Regions from separate parts of the Homo sapiens genome. Here region 1 is linked to region 2. Evidence: promoter capture Hi-C in 16 types of primary human blood cells and fetal thymus (Javierre and others, 2016). All regions are on one chromosome and are shown on one strand. Each heading gives the region's core, a stretch centred on a gene start or on the middle of the fragment in contact. The rest is flanking DNA. Distances are from core to core; before and after follow the strand shown.

The links. Contacts are between HindIII fragments. The CHiCAGO score rates a contact against its expected background, and 5 or more counts as called.
Region 1: a fragment that was not itself captured here is called in contact with the fragment with the promoter of FAAH2 in region 2 in 2 of 17 cell types (total CD4 T cells and activated CD4 T cells); the score reaches 10.4 in total CD4 T cells.

Annotation. Positions count from the first base shown.
Region 1 is chrX:57,897,192-57,904,114 of GRCh38, reverse strand. No RefSeq gene overlaps it. Among named protein-coding and RNA genes, the nearest start is that of ZXDA, 9.8 kb to the left of the region's middle. The HindIII fragment of the contact is 1,479 bases long and covers 2,909-4,387 here.
Region 2 is chrX:57,282,174-57,288,212 of GRCh38, reverse strand. FAAH2 (fatty acid amide hydrolase 2) reads right to left here and starts at 1,507. Exons shown (of 11, transcript NM_174912.4): 1 at 1,196-1,507. The coding sequence starts at 1,387. The HindIII fragment of the contact is 1,960 bases long and covers 1,485-3,444 here.

The DNA.
Region 1 (6,923 bases), core at 2,399-4,898, 610 kb before region 2:
TTTGGAGAGGACATAGAAATTCACCTATTAGCCATTTTACAACTAAACAAAATCAACAAACATGTTTTCAGGCACCAAATGAGTGGCTTGGAGTGAAAGGAGGGGCAGGAGCTAGAGTTTAATGGGTGGTTACATTTAGTTATATAAAGAAGAGTGTTGGTGAATTCCAGCCTGGGAGAAAAGCACAAAGAACTCAAAATGGAATTAGCCACACAACACTGTGAAAAACAGCCTAACTCAAATTCAGGGCTCATATTTGGTAAGTGCTGGGTGTTAGGGTTAGACTGCCAGTATGGAGCCAAATTCCGGAAGGCAATACAAACCAGTCAGAGTAGATAGGACTTTATTCTGGATATGATTGAAAGCCAGTGAAGATATTTGAGAAGGGAAGTCAAATATGATTATATAAAAATATTAATATAGTGGACATGTATAATGTGGATACGATGGGGGAAATAGTGCCGTCACATAGGAGTCTGTTGTAGTAATTCCGGAGTGTTGTGATGAAGGCTTGGACTGAAGTGGTGACGAGAAGAGACAGAGATATAGGTGATGTGTCCTAATTGAGGAAATGAATATAATTTGGTGACTTATTGAATGTATAGGACAACCATCAGAAAGAGAAAGGAAGATTAAAAATGTCCCTAAGGATTTCTTGGATACTATAAAAATTACACTTGATTAATATGAACAAAGTTGTGTAATAAAATATTTTCAGGAATATTTATGCAAAGACGATTAGGACATGCTTAATTTATCAGGAAGTGATAAACTATGGCTATCTCTGAATAAATCATGCATAGTCTAGATTATCCACACTGTTAGACGACTTTATCTTGTTTGGCTCCCTCATGTGTTCTTAGATTCACATTTGATGTTTATAATGTTATTTCCCTTTGAGAATCTGCAGGACTCTTCAACCTTGTACAATATAAGCCCAGACTACTCTGTATCAAAATGAGCTATGTCGTCGCTGGCTTCCATTTCTTTCTTACTACTGCCTTCTGCTACTACAGATATTCAACAGGTATTTTTTATTTGGTGCTTATTAATATAACAAATCAGATCTCCATAATTTGGAAGATACTGCTTAGTCATTAATTTCAATAGTTTCTCATGCTAAACTGTGTTAGATTGAGTTTTAACTGCATTTCTCTTAAATTGGAAGAGATAGGACTAGGATTGCCCAAAAACCAACTTCGATGTGATACTTGGGCTTCTTACTCATAATCCTCTCTTTCATTAGCTAACATGGCAAGTGATGATGTATGGAAACTCAATTACAGAAGTCACATCCTCTTTTCTCTTTACACCCTAATGTAACACATTTTATAGTTACCCTGACTACTAATGGTGATAACTCAGTGAGCATGGAGTGCAAAAAAAGAGAGAGTAAATAAATAGTATAATTACCTAGCAATTACATTTTGTTCGGTGGTGACTTTGCTGTCCTGCATTGTCAACAGAACAATACATTTCATTCTAGTTTTCTGCTGACATTTATGCACATGCAAAACACATTAACCATCATTCTGCCTATGGAAAATACCTTAACTCAGTATTTTAAACAAAGGAGATAATTATTCTTATGAGCACTAACTGTGAATCCTTAGACTACCTCTTATCATTACCAGCTTATTAAGCAGCTGGTGGTTATTGAGTGCCTACTCTGTGTGAGGCACTATGAAGTATAACACAAAAGTATGTTGCATTACTTTATTCAAACAAACATTTTTAGCACATATTTGACAAATTCTGCCCTTTACCCACACATATTACAAGCTAGATAGAAACAAAAATTCAGCAAGCAATGACAAATAATATATAATCAATTTCTAGATGGTTATGTATTAGAATTATACAGATTCAGATAGAATGGCAGTTGTTATTTTCACGGTATGGACAGAAAATTATGAGGAATATTTCAATGTGCAGATTATCAGAAGTTTTTTCAAAAAGTTCTAAGAATCTAAAATGTAAGCTGCAATACAGCAATTAGGATAAACTGTCCTAAATTAAAATTTAAACAGAATTGTGACTGGTAGCTTTAATTATAGCAAAATACTATGGGAAATAACTTGTAAATTATGCTATATTTTGATTTGCTCTAGATTGGAATCCCGGATATATTAAGTATAAAACCTGAGAGTGATCTTTTGGAAATTATATAAAACAAACATTTTGTTTCCAAATGAGAAAACCATAGCATATAAATAAATGATTTTACACCTGTAATTTTTGAAATAATTTTTACTTTCCTTATATTGGACACACAAGCAAATTTTAATTTTCTGAAACAAAAAAACAAGACTTTAATTAGAAAGTAGTTATTTTATATAGGTATGCTAGCTGAAAATAAGGCTATAAAGACTTCGTTTGATACTTGGGAATGACAACTACTGGAGTTTAACATGGAGAATCCTGAAACTTCACCAATCATGTGATGAGGGATAGTGTTAATCATCAAGCAGGTCTCTCACATTCTGAATAAAGTATAACTAACTGAATACATTTGGAAAGGAAACAAAGCCCATTATAAAAAAAATAAAGCTCACTATAGTGATACATAATATTTTATGTTCTCACCACAAAAAGTAGGTATATGAGGTAATGCATGTGTTAATTAGCTCTATCTAGTCATTCCACAGTGTTATATATATTTTCAAACATATTGTATATGATAAATATACACAATTTTTGTCAGTTTAAAAAATAAATACATTTAACAATAAAAATTGCAAATGGTAGCCAAAATGAAAACATTTCAATTCTAAGCCAGTCTTTCCTTGGAATAAAGTCAAGAAATGATTCGTCTTTGTCAAGACTTATTTCCCTTTCCTGTGTACACAGTAGAGGGATATAACTGCAGTGTGAAATAACATAATACTGCATGTGGAAGAAGGAAGCTTCTCTCATGTCTATTTGTGGGGAAATTAGCCAAATTAGAGAGCTAAAATGGAAATTCCACAGGCAATGACTCAGTGAATAGAAGTTCATTCCAGGCGAGGTCCAATTTTAGAATGTGCTGCTAGGCAGAGTGAGAACTATTTTTCCTCCCGATTTGTGTTGGCATTAGTTCGTTAATGCTAAACTTGACCCTTGATATTTCCAAAGAGATGCAACAGCTTTCCCTTTAAAGTCATTTTATGTTCTTGTGCTTTCTGGAACTTGTTTTATTTTAAATTATTAATAATAATAGGAATTGCATCAAATGTTATGACATGCTAGTAGAAGAGGGAATAAGCCAATATTATTTTTGCCTCACTTTCTAAAATAGCGTTGATTAAGTAAAACTTGCTTTTCTATTTTTTATGTGAGAGCTCATTTTGCCATTTGGGTATGTCACTTTCATTTATGTACTTAGGAAGCATTAGGATTTAAGAACATTGTTAAAATAAGTCTTTATAACTTTAGAAATGTGGTTACTTTGAAAATGGAAAAACCTAGACTAGCCTTACTACTTTTTTTAGATAACAGGGAAGACTTATGGAAATGAATGAAAGGCAAATTCAATTGGAAAAAAGAGATTAATTTCTTATTAAATCAAATTCTCTGTATTTATAAATTTTGCTGATAAATCCACTCTTGTATATTATTCAGCATATTTCTATTCAGTTCATTTTTAGAATAGTTTATCTACAGCAGTAAGTCTATGTGAAATCTAAAAATTTGACTAACTTTTATTATATTTCATTTTTACAGTAGGCAGTGGATAGTCATTTTCACTGCTAAATCTATGTACCAAATCTACTGAGTATTGCAAAAACACACTGGATAGAATATTATTTGCAAAGTGATTCTTGTTGTCATTCACCATAGATTCTTTTGGGACAAAAAAATTCTTAAAGATAAAATGTTGCCTGTATTTATAAAAATCATTGAGGATTCTTCCCAAAAATAGAAATGAGAAAATAGAATTTAAACAATCAAATGATTAAGTTTGCTCTATAGCCAAGTGTTTTGGTCTAAGTGTCTTTGGTTGAAAGCATCTGGATAAAAGCATAGTGACAATTTTGAAGCATGTCCAGAATTTTCCAGTTACAGTTAGACATAAAAAAAATCAAAGAGCCATTATTGCAACATTGGTAATCTGTCTGTCTAATACAATCTATCTTTTGAAAGTTTCTTGAAGACAGTAATAAGTAAAGAGAAAAGTTACAGATTTGGGCCCTGACTATGAAATGCCAAAATGTTATGAAATTGGAGGCTATTGATTATTTTACATGATAATTTTAGTAGTTGGTGTTTTTAAGTATTTCCACTCCAAGTATTTTTAAGAGTATTTTTAAACTAAATGTGAATCTTTGATTCATGCCTTTAAAATTGCTAATTGATTTTTATTTTATTTTTATTTTCAAGATTGTTGGATTATTCAATTCAATAAGCTTCCAGATACCAACCTATAGATTGTTAGTTGTGAGGCTATATTGTGTATTTTAATTATTTCTTGATATAATTTTAAGTTACCATGTATTGAATTATAACTGGCCCTAAAACATTTTTTAATTTGTAAATTTTATTTTTATAACTTTTATTGAAATATACTTTAAAAATATAACATACATTACAAAATTGCTTTATTAATTTTCAAAAAATGAATACACCTATAAAACCACTACTCAGATGAAAGGATTACCAGAACCTCAAAGCTCCCTCATATTCTCTGCTAGTCACTACCATCCTGTACCAAAATAAATAACTTGATTTTCAAAACCAAAAGTTAGATGTTTTTTATTTGCTTGTTTCTCTTCGTTTATTATTATTATTGAGATAAAATTCACATAATGTAAAATTCACCATTTTAAAATATACAATTCAGTCATTTTTAAAACATTCATAATGTTGCTGAGTCATCACAACTGGGTAATTCCAGAACACCTCTGCCACTCTGAAAAGAAATCCCATAATCATTCTCCATTCCCTCATCTCCAGGAAACCACTAATTTACTTTCTGTCTCTATGGATTTGTCTATTATGCATATTTCATATGAATGGAATTGTACAATATATGCTTTTGTGTCTGGCTTTTCTTAGTATGATGTTATTAAAGTTCATCCATGTTTTAGCACATATCAGTACTTCACTCTTTTCATGGCTGAAATGTATCACATTGTATAGCTATATTGCATTTTATTTGTTAATTAATTAATGGACATTTGAGTTGTTTCCACCTTTAGGTATTATTAGTTTTTGCTATCAATATTTGTGTACAAGTTTTTTTGTGAATATATTAAAACTACAGATTAGTTTTATTTTTAAACTTTATGGAAAGTTTATATTCTTTTTGACTTCTTTTACTCAACATTTTGTTTGTGAAATTCAGCCATGGTTTAGCATGTATAAACAATTCATTTATTCATTTTTATTTTAAGAGAGAAGGTCTCTCTTTGTCATCCAGGCTGGAGTGCAATGGCACTATCATAGCTCATTGCAGCCTTGATCTTCTGGGCTCAAGGTATCCTCTCACCTCAGCCTCCCTAGTATCTGGGACTACAGGCATAGGACACCACACGTGGCTTGTTCATTTATTTTTGTTGTAGAATTATAGTGTATCCCTCACCCATAATTTTTTTAGTTTCTGCTTATAGGCATTTATATTGTTTCCAGTTATTGGCAAGTGCTAATTATGCTGCTATGAACAATCAAATAAATAAATGGGAGTGTAGCTAGGTATGTTAAATTTTAGTAAGCACTGCCAGTTTTCCAAGGTGTTTGTACTAATTTACACATTCACCATCAGATATGGGAGTTCTTATGAGTGAGAATGTGAAATATTTGTCTTTCTGTGTCTGACTTGTTTCACTTAAGATAATGACATCCAGTTCCATCCATGTTGCTACAAAAAATGTGATTTCATTCTTTTTATGGCTGAATAGTATTTCATTGTGTATACATACCACATTTTCTTTATCCAATCATCTATTGATGAACACTTAGGTTTATTCCATATTTTTGCTATTGTGACTAGAGCTGAAATAAACATACAAGTGCAGCTATCTTTTTAATATAATGATTTTTTTTCCTTTGGGTAGACATCCAGCAGTGGGATTGCTGGATCAAGTGGTAGTTCTATTTTTAGTTCTTCGGGAAATCTCCATACTTAGTTTTTCATAAAGGTTGTACTAATTTAAATTCTCACCAACAATGTATAAAAGTTCCCTTTTCTCCACATCCTTGTCAATATGTGTTATTCTTTGACTTTTTAATTATACCATTCTGACTGGGGTAAGATAATATCTCATCATGGTTTTAATTTGCATTTTTTTCTGATGACTAGTGATGTTGAATACTTTTTTCACGTATCTGTGGGGCATTTGTAGGTCTTTTGAAAAATCTCCATACATGTCATTTTTCCATTTTTTAATGGGATTTTCTTTCTTTGTTGAGTTGGCTGAGTTCCTTGTATACTCTGAATACTAGTGCCCTGTTGGATGTATACTTTACACATATTTTCTCCCATTCTACAGGTTGTCTGTTCACTTTGTTTATTATTTCCTGTGCTGTGCAGAAGCTTTTTAGTTGAAGTCTCATTTGTCTATGTCAGTTTTTGTCGCCTGTTCCTTTGAGATCTTAGTCATAAATTATTGGCCTAAACCGAGGCCCAAAAGAGTTTTCCCTAGGTTTTGTTCTAGAATATTTGTTTCAGCCTTACATTTAAATCTTTAATCCATCTTGAGTTGATTTTTGTGTATGGTAAGACATAGCAGTTACATTCCCGTGCTTATGAAAATCAAATTTTCCCAGCACCATTTGCTGAAAGTGTTCTTTCTCCAATGTATGTTCTTTTTGACATTTTCAAAGATACATTGGCTGTAACTGTATGGCTTTTTGTTTTGGGTTCTCTATCCTGTCCCATTGATCCATGTTACTATTTTAATAAGAGTACCATGCTGTTTAGGTTACTATAGCCTTCTAGTATAATT
Region 2 (6,039 bases), core at 258-2,757:
ATATGTATTATCTGCTATTGGTGTGGCACAAGGTCACAGAGCCATGAACAGACAGTCCAAAATTTGAAATATATCATCTTTCTACTATTAGGTTGGTGCAAAAGTAATTGTGATTTTTGCCATTAAAAGTAATGTCAAAATCTCAATTACAAAATCACAATTACTTTTGCACCAACCGAATACATCCCATTGCCTCCCTAACTGGTAGAAAAGCATGCATGAGTGGGTAGAGGCTGGGGAGGGGGTACGGCAAGAAGACAGGATATGTCTTTGAAAGGTAACCAGGAGTACAATACAAATATTAATAATTCATACATTCAGGAGCACATACTGAGATAGTATTTGCTGCATGCCTATTCTTTGTTAAGTAGTATTGTAGATTCTGGAAATAAAGCAATGACGAAAAACAAATGAAACAGCAGAGAGGTGAAAACAAGCAGAGTATAAATAAACAATACTAGACTGTAGCTCAAGATCTCCAGGTAACCAATCACTTATATGACAGAGATGAATAGTCCTGCCTGCACAATTCTATAGAGAACGAATGAGCTGCTTAATTTTTTTAATTTAGAACTTTCAACAATTTTTGTGCAAATCATTTTACTTCAGTTTCCTTATGCATAAAATATGAATATTGCCTATATAACTGCATCCGTGAAATAGAATATGTTTAAGTACCCAGGCAGAGTATTTCACATATACTATGCAATAAATATATGGTAGACGCAGCTTTTACTATCCTAGACCAAGTACTACTTTTACTTTAAATCAATTTTAAAAAGAATTGGTTGAATGGTAAGCAGCAGGTTGATCTGGGGCCTGTGAGAGACGGAAGAATAGAGAGAGAGAAAGGGAGAGGGAGAGAGAAAGAGAGAGACTGACTTTCCATAGCTGAGAATCAGTTTGAAATTCACACCTGCTTTACCCCACACACAGTAATTATGCACAAATAGGACAAATGGATAGGAAGGACTATGACGGTACCAAAATAGTCCAACCCATGCCCACAGTAAATGTCCTTGGTAAAAATAAACGTACTACAACACCCAGAAGTCTCCCTTCATCCCCAATAAATGCCTCTCCTAAGTCGCCCTAGTAGAGAATGGAAAGGAAACCACAACCACCGCCACCACTAAGCTTCCTGGATCCTGCTAAAAGACCTGTCCCTCCAGCCTCTTCTGAATTGCATTCTCACCTTTCTCTGTCGGATCAGCTTGGCCAGCTGCATCCCCGAAAGCAGAAGCAATGGTTCAGTCACCGGCCGAGGGGTCTTTGAGGCAAACTTTGGACCCCCTAAGACTAAAGCTGCTCGGCCTACTAAGCCTATGAGAAAGCCTAGCGCCCGCAAGAGGAACAACTGAATGCGGGCGGTAAATGAAGGTGCCATCGCAGCCTGGATTCCGCACGGTCCTAGTGCTTGAGGGTTACGTGCACCCTGGGGAAAGGACGAGAAAAGTACTAAGCAAAGAGGGACTTATGAAGCTTTTCGTTTACAAGTCCAGTGTCTACCCACAATTCCACAGGAGCTTGTTTATCATCACCTGCAGGGCTCCTAGCCAGAGATGGGGGCGGAGACTTCCCAGCAGCTGCCTGTGTGCAATGCTACCTGTCGTTAGTGCTGTTGTAACCCAAGACAGAAAATGCGTCATAAGAAAGAACACTGGCCTTGGAATTCCCCAGTTCTGCTACTGTGTAGCCCTGGCCAACCTACACTATATCTCCTAGTCAGTTTACTCATAAGAAAAAAAATGGGAATAACTACTCCTATATCAAAGGGTTACCATAAACACTAGATAATAAGTAAAAACATTTAGCACAATTTATGGTAAATAGTATAAGTGGTAGTTGTTATAGTTTATTTCAGCTGTGCTTGTGAAAAAAGTGTTGTAAGTATACCTTTGTATGCAAATATTCAGTATGCTCAACAAACAACTAAATGGCAAGTATATATATATTTTCCATATGCATATTATTTAATCCTTATAAGATCACTAACAGGTAGTACTGATGAACATCAAATCTCCAGCCCATCTGTCTCCTAAACTGGACACTTGAAATGCCTTTTTTGACATATCCATGTGAATGTCTTCCAGATCGTTCAAACTCAACAAGTCCAAAACTCATCCTTTTGTCCCCCAGACTGCTGCCCCTACAGGTCTACAAATGGAATTTTCATCCACCCAGTCAGCCATGCCAAAAATCTAGAATCACTTCAGATTCTTCCATTTCTCTTATTCTCATGACAGAATCCAGCCCTTCCTTCTCAACTCAGTCTGGCTCAGATCTCACTGAGGTTTACATGAACTTCTACAAATAATCTAGCTGATCACTCTGCCTTTATTTATAGAGTGTTCTTTCTAATATGTAAATCTGACAATATTACACCCCTGCCAATAACTCCGCAATAATTCTCCATTTTCCACAGATTCAAGACCCATCTACTTTGTCCAGCATTCGACTCTCATGACTGGTGTCTGAAAAACTCTATGCTTCATCCCTAACCCCTTCTATCCCTCACATGCTAAGCTCCTGACAAACAACTATCCGAAAGTTCTCTCTTCCCTCCTTATCTTTGCATCTGCTTTCCCAACCTCTTCATCTAGTTCAGGACAAGTACCACCTCCTCCAGTAAGTCTTCCCTGAACTTACAACTGGGTGTGATGCCACTCTTTTGTAACCCTGCACTCCACAGATTAACAAAATCATAGCACTTACAACCCTCTGTTATGTGTTAGGTTTTTGTGTCTATGCCCCATCTAGATATAAACTCCTCGAAGAACAGGGTCATTCTAATTCCTCTTTGTATTGCCAGAGCCTGACATAGGGCTTGATGAGAAGTCAATACAGGTTTGTAGGCTGAAGGTATGTGATTATGAGATAATGAGCGTTGAAGATAGGGATTCGAGCTTGGCATTTAAGGTCTTGGGTAGGTGAAATGACAACGTCATCCAGGTCACTGTCTTTTCACCTGCAGAACTTAGGTTGATACTGAAAGTGTCATCACAGCACTTCTAGCCTAATTCAAGCACCTGGTAGAAAGCAGGTTAATCATGACAGGCACATCTAGCAGATCCAGTAAAGAAAGCTGATAAAGCAGGTTGTCATAATCTAGGCTCCATTACAGTTCTGAGCAAAACCTGTTAGCTGAGTGAAACTTCCTTACCAGAGAAAGGTTTTGTCAAAATGAAAATATTTACTTTGCCCAACTTTTGTTACTTTATTTAAGTTGTAAATGACAAATATGTGAGCCTGAGGTACAAAGAATGCTCACTGATTGGGCTCTGACCAGACAGACCTGAATCCAAATCCTAGATCCAGCACTCATTATGTTTTTGACCTTGAACAAATCACTTAATGTCCCTAGGTGTGTTTTCTCATCTGTAAAGTAGAATAACAGCTGCCATATGGTGTTATGAAGATTAAATCACATATGGATGTAAAGCTTCTGTTTTTTTTTTACAATCTTAAATATTTTAATTTTATATTAATAGTTAGACCATGTTAAGTATATTGCCATTGTTGGCAACATATCACCAGAACATTTTTATCTTGCAAAATGAATACATACTATACATGAATCGACTACCTGTTTTCCCCATTGACTGGCCCTTTACAAATGCCATTCTATTTTCTCTTTTTAAAAGTGCAACTACTTTAGCTAACTCGTATAAGTGGATTCATACTTTTTATGATGGACTTATTACACTTATCATAAGACCATTAAGATTTATCTTTAAAATAAATGTTAAATTTCCTGCTTTTTAAAAGCTGAATAATATTCCAGGTTTTGTTGTTGTTGTTGTTGTTGTTGTTGTTTTGTTTTGTTATGATATGGTGTCTCATTCTGTCGCCCAGGCTGGAGCGCCACTGGAGTGCAGTGGCACCATCTTGGCTCATTGCAACCTTTGCCTCCCGGGTTCAAGTGATTCTCCTGCCTCAGCCTTCCAAGTAGCTGGTATTATAAGCACCCACCACCATGCCCAGATTGCAGGCTTTCTTCCCGGGCACGCCGCAGGATAAGGCCCATTAGCTTGGGACACTAACAAGGCTACCCCAGCCCTGCCTGAGTTCTCAGGCTGGAAGCAGCTCCACACTTCCCTGGGACAGAGCTCCCAGAGGGAGCAGGCAAGCTGACGTTTTTCCACGCTCATGTTCTCATCAGGCTCTGGAGGTAGTATAGAAGTTGGGGACTGACGCGAACCCACAGCACAGCGCAGTCACCTTAAAGGAAAAGCGGCCAGACTGTTTTCACGTGTGTCCCCACCTCCGCTGCTCTTCACTGAGCAGTGCCTCTTGACCTGGGCCCCAAGCACAATCACTCTGCTTCCACATAAACACTTTACTCGGTAGCAGCTCTGCGTTTCTGAGGAGGAAATCCCAGAGACAACCCACAGCTTCTCTGCCATTGCAGCTGCAGTGGTACTGTTCTGCTGCATTCAGGCCAGGGAATAAAACAAAAGGTCGAGTTGCTACACTGGAGCCTCCAGCACGCTGCAGCCACCATACAGAGAGGAGCCCAGTCTCTCTTCCATGTAGGCTCCCACCCCACACTCTTCACCAAGCAGGGCCCCAAGCCTGGATCTACACAGACGTCCCACCCTTGGCAGAGCATTCCCTCTGCTAGTGGCTTTGTATTTCCCTGGGGGAGGGGCTCCCAGAGGCAACTGACAGCCCCTCTGCCACTGCCATTGCAGTGGTTCTTCCCCTGCTGCCCTCAGGCTGGAGAAGAAATGAAGATCCTGAGGGCTTTACTCACATTTCTAGCAAGACACAGTCACCATACAAAGAAGAGCCCACTCTCTCCTCCCTGTTATCCCTCGAACCCCGACTCTTCCCCAAGCGGGGTCCCCACCTCAGGCCAACAGCACAGTTGCCTCACCCCCTGGCTGAACATCCCCAGTAGCAGTGACTCTGTGTTTTTTTCTGAGATGGAGGTCCCAGAGACAACCAAAAGCCTTTCTGCCCCTGCCACTGCAATGGTAGTGCCCTTGCTGCCCTCAGACTGGGAAAGAAGCAAAGACGCACAGTGCTTTAACCACACCTCCAGAAAGCCACAGCCACCATAAGGAGAAGAGGCTGGTCTGTTCCCTCCGCAATCCCCTTCCCATCCCCAGGCAGGTTCCCATGGCTTGGGCCAAAAACGCAGCTGCCCCACCCTTGACTGATTGCACCAGTTGATATCCGCTCTGAATTTCTCTAGGGTAGAGCACCAAAAGACACGGGAAAGACCCTCTGCCATAGCCACTGCCAAGGTCTTGTCCCCTGCTGCCTCAAAAGTGGGGAAGGAAAATAAAGATGAGCTCACCACAAGGTTGTGCTGTACAGCTCGCAAGTGCCAAACAGAGGTCTACAGACAGCACTTCTGTGGGAGAGGAGCCTACACTTTCAGAACAGTAACAGAAAATTTGATGGCAATCATGAGGAAATACAGGCGAGCCACATGGCTAAGCAAGAGCGTACCTATTAACCATTACATTTAAGCACCATCTAGTGGATTACAACCAAATTTCAACACCGAAAATACTGTTAATATATCCCCCAGTGAAACCAAGGACAAGAACTAAGCTACAAATAAAGATCCTGCAAAAATGCTTAGACTGCTGAAAACATTCAGAAAAGAAGTCAACTGATTATACTCATATTACACTACAGTTGAAGGAACATCAACCCACACAGAAAGAATGAAACCATCAACGGAGTAAACAGACAACCTACAGAATGGGGGAAATATTCACAAACATCAAACAAAGATCTAATATCCACAATCTCTAAGAAACTTAACAAGCAATAAACAAATAACCCCATTAAAAAGTGAGCAAGAAACATAAACAGACACTTCTGAAAAGAAGACATACAAGTGGCCAAAAAACATTAAAAAAATGCTCATCATCACTAATCGTCAGAGAAATGTAAATCAAAACCACGAAGAGATACCATCTCACATAGTCAGAATGGCTATTATTAAAATGTCAAAAAACTAACACATGCTGGTGAGGTTGTACAGAAAAGGGAAAGCTTATACACTGCTATAGGCGATAT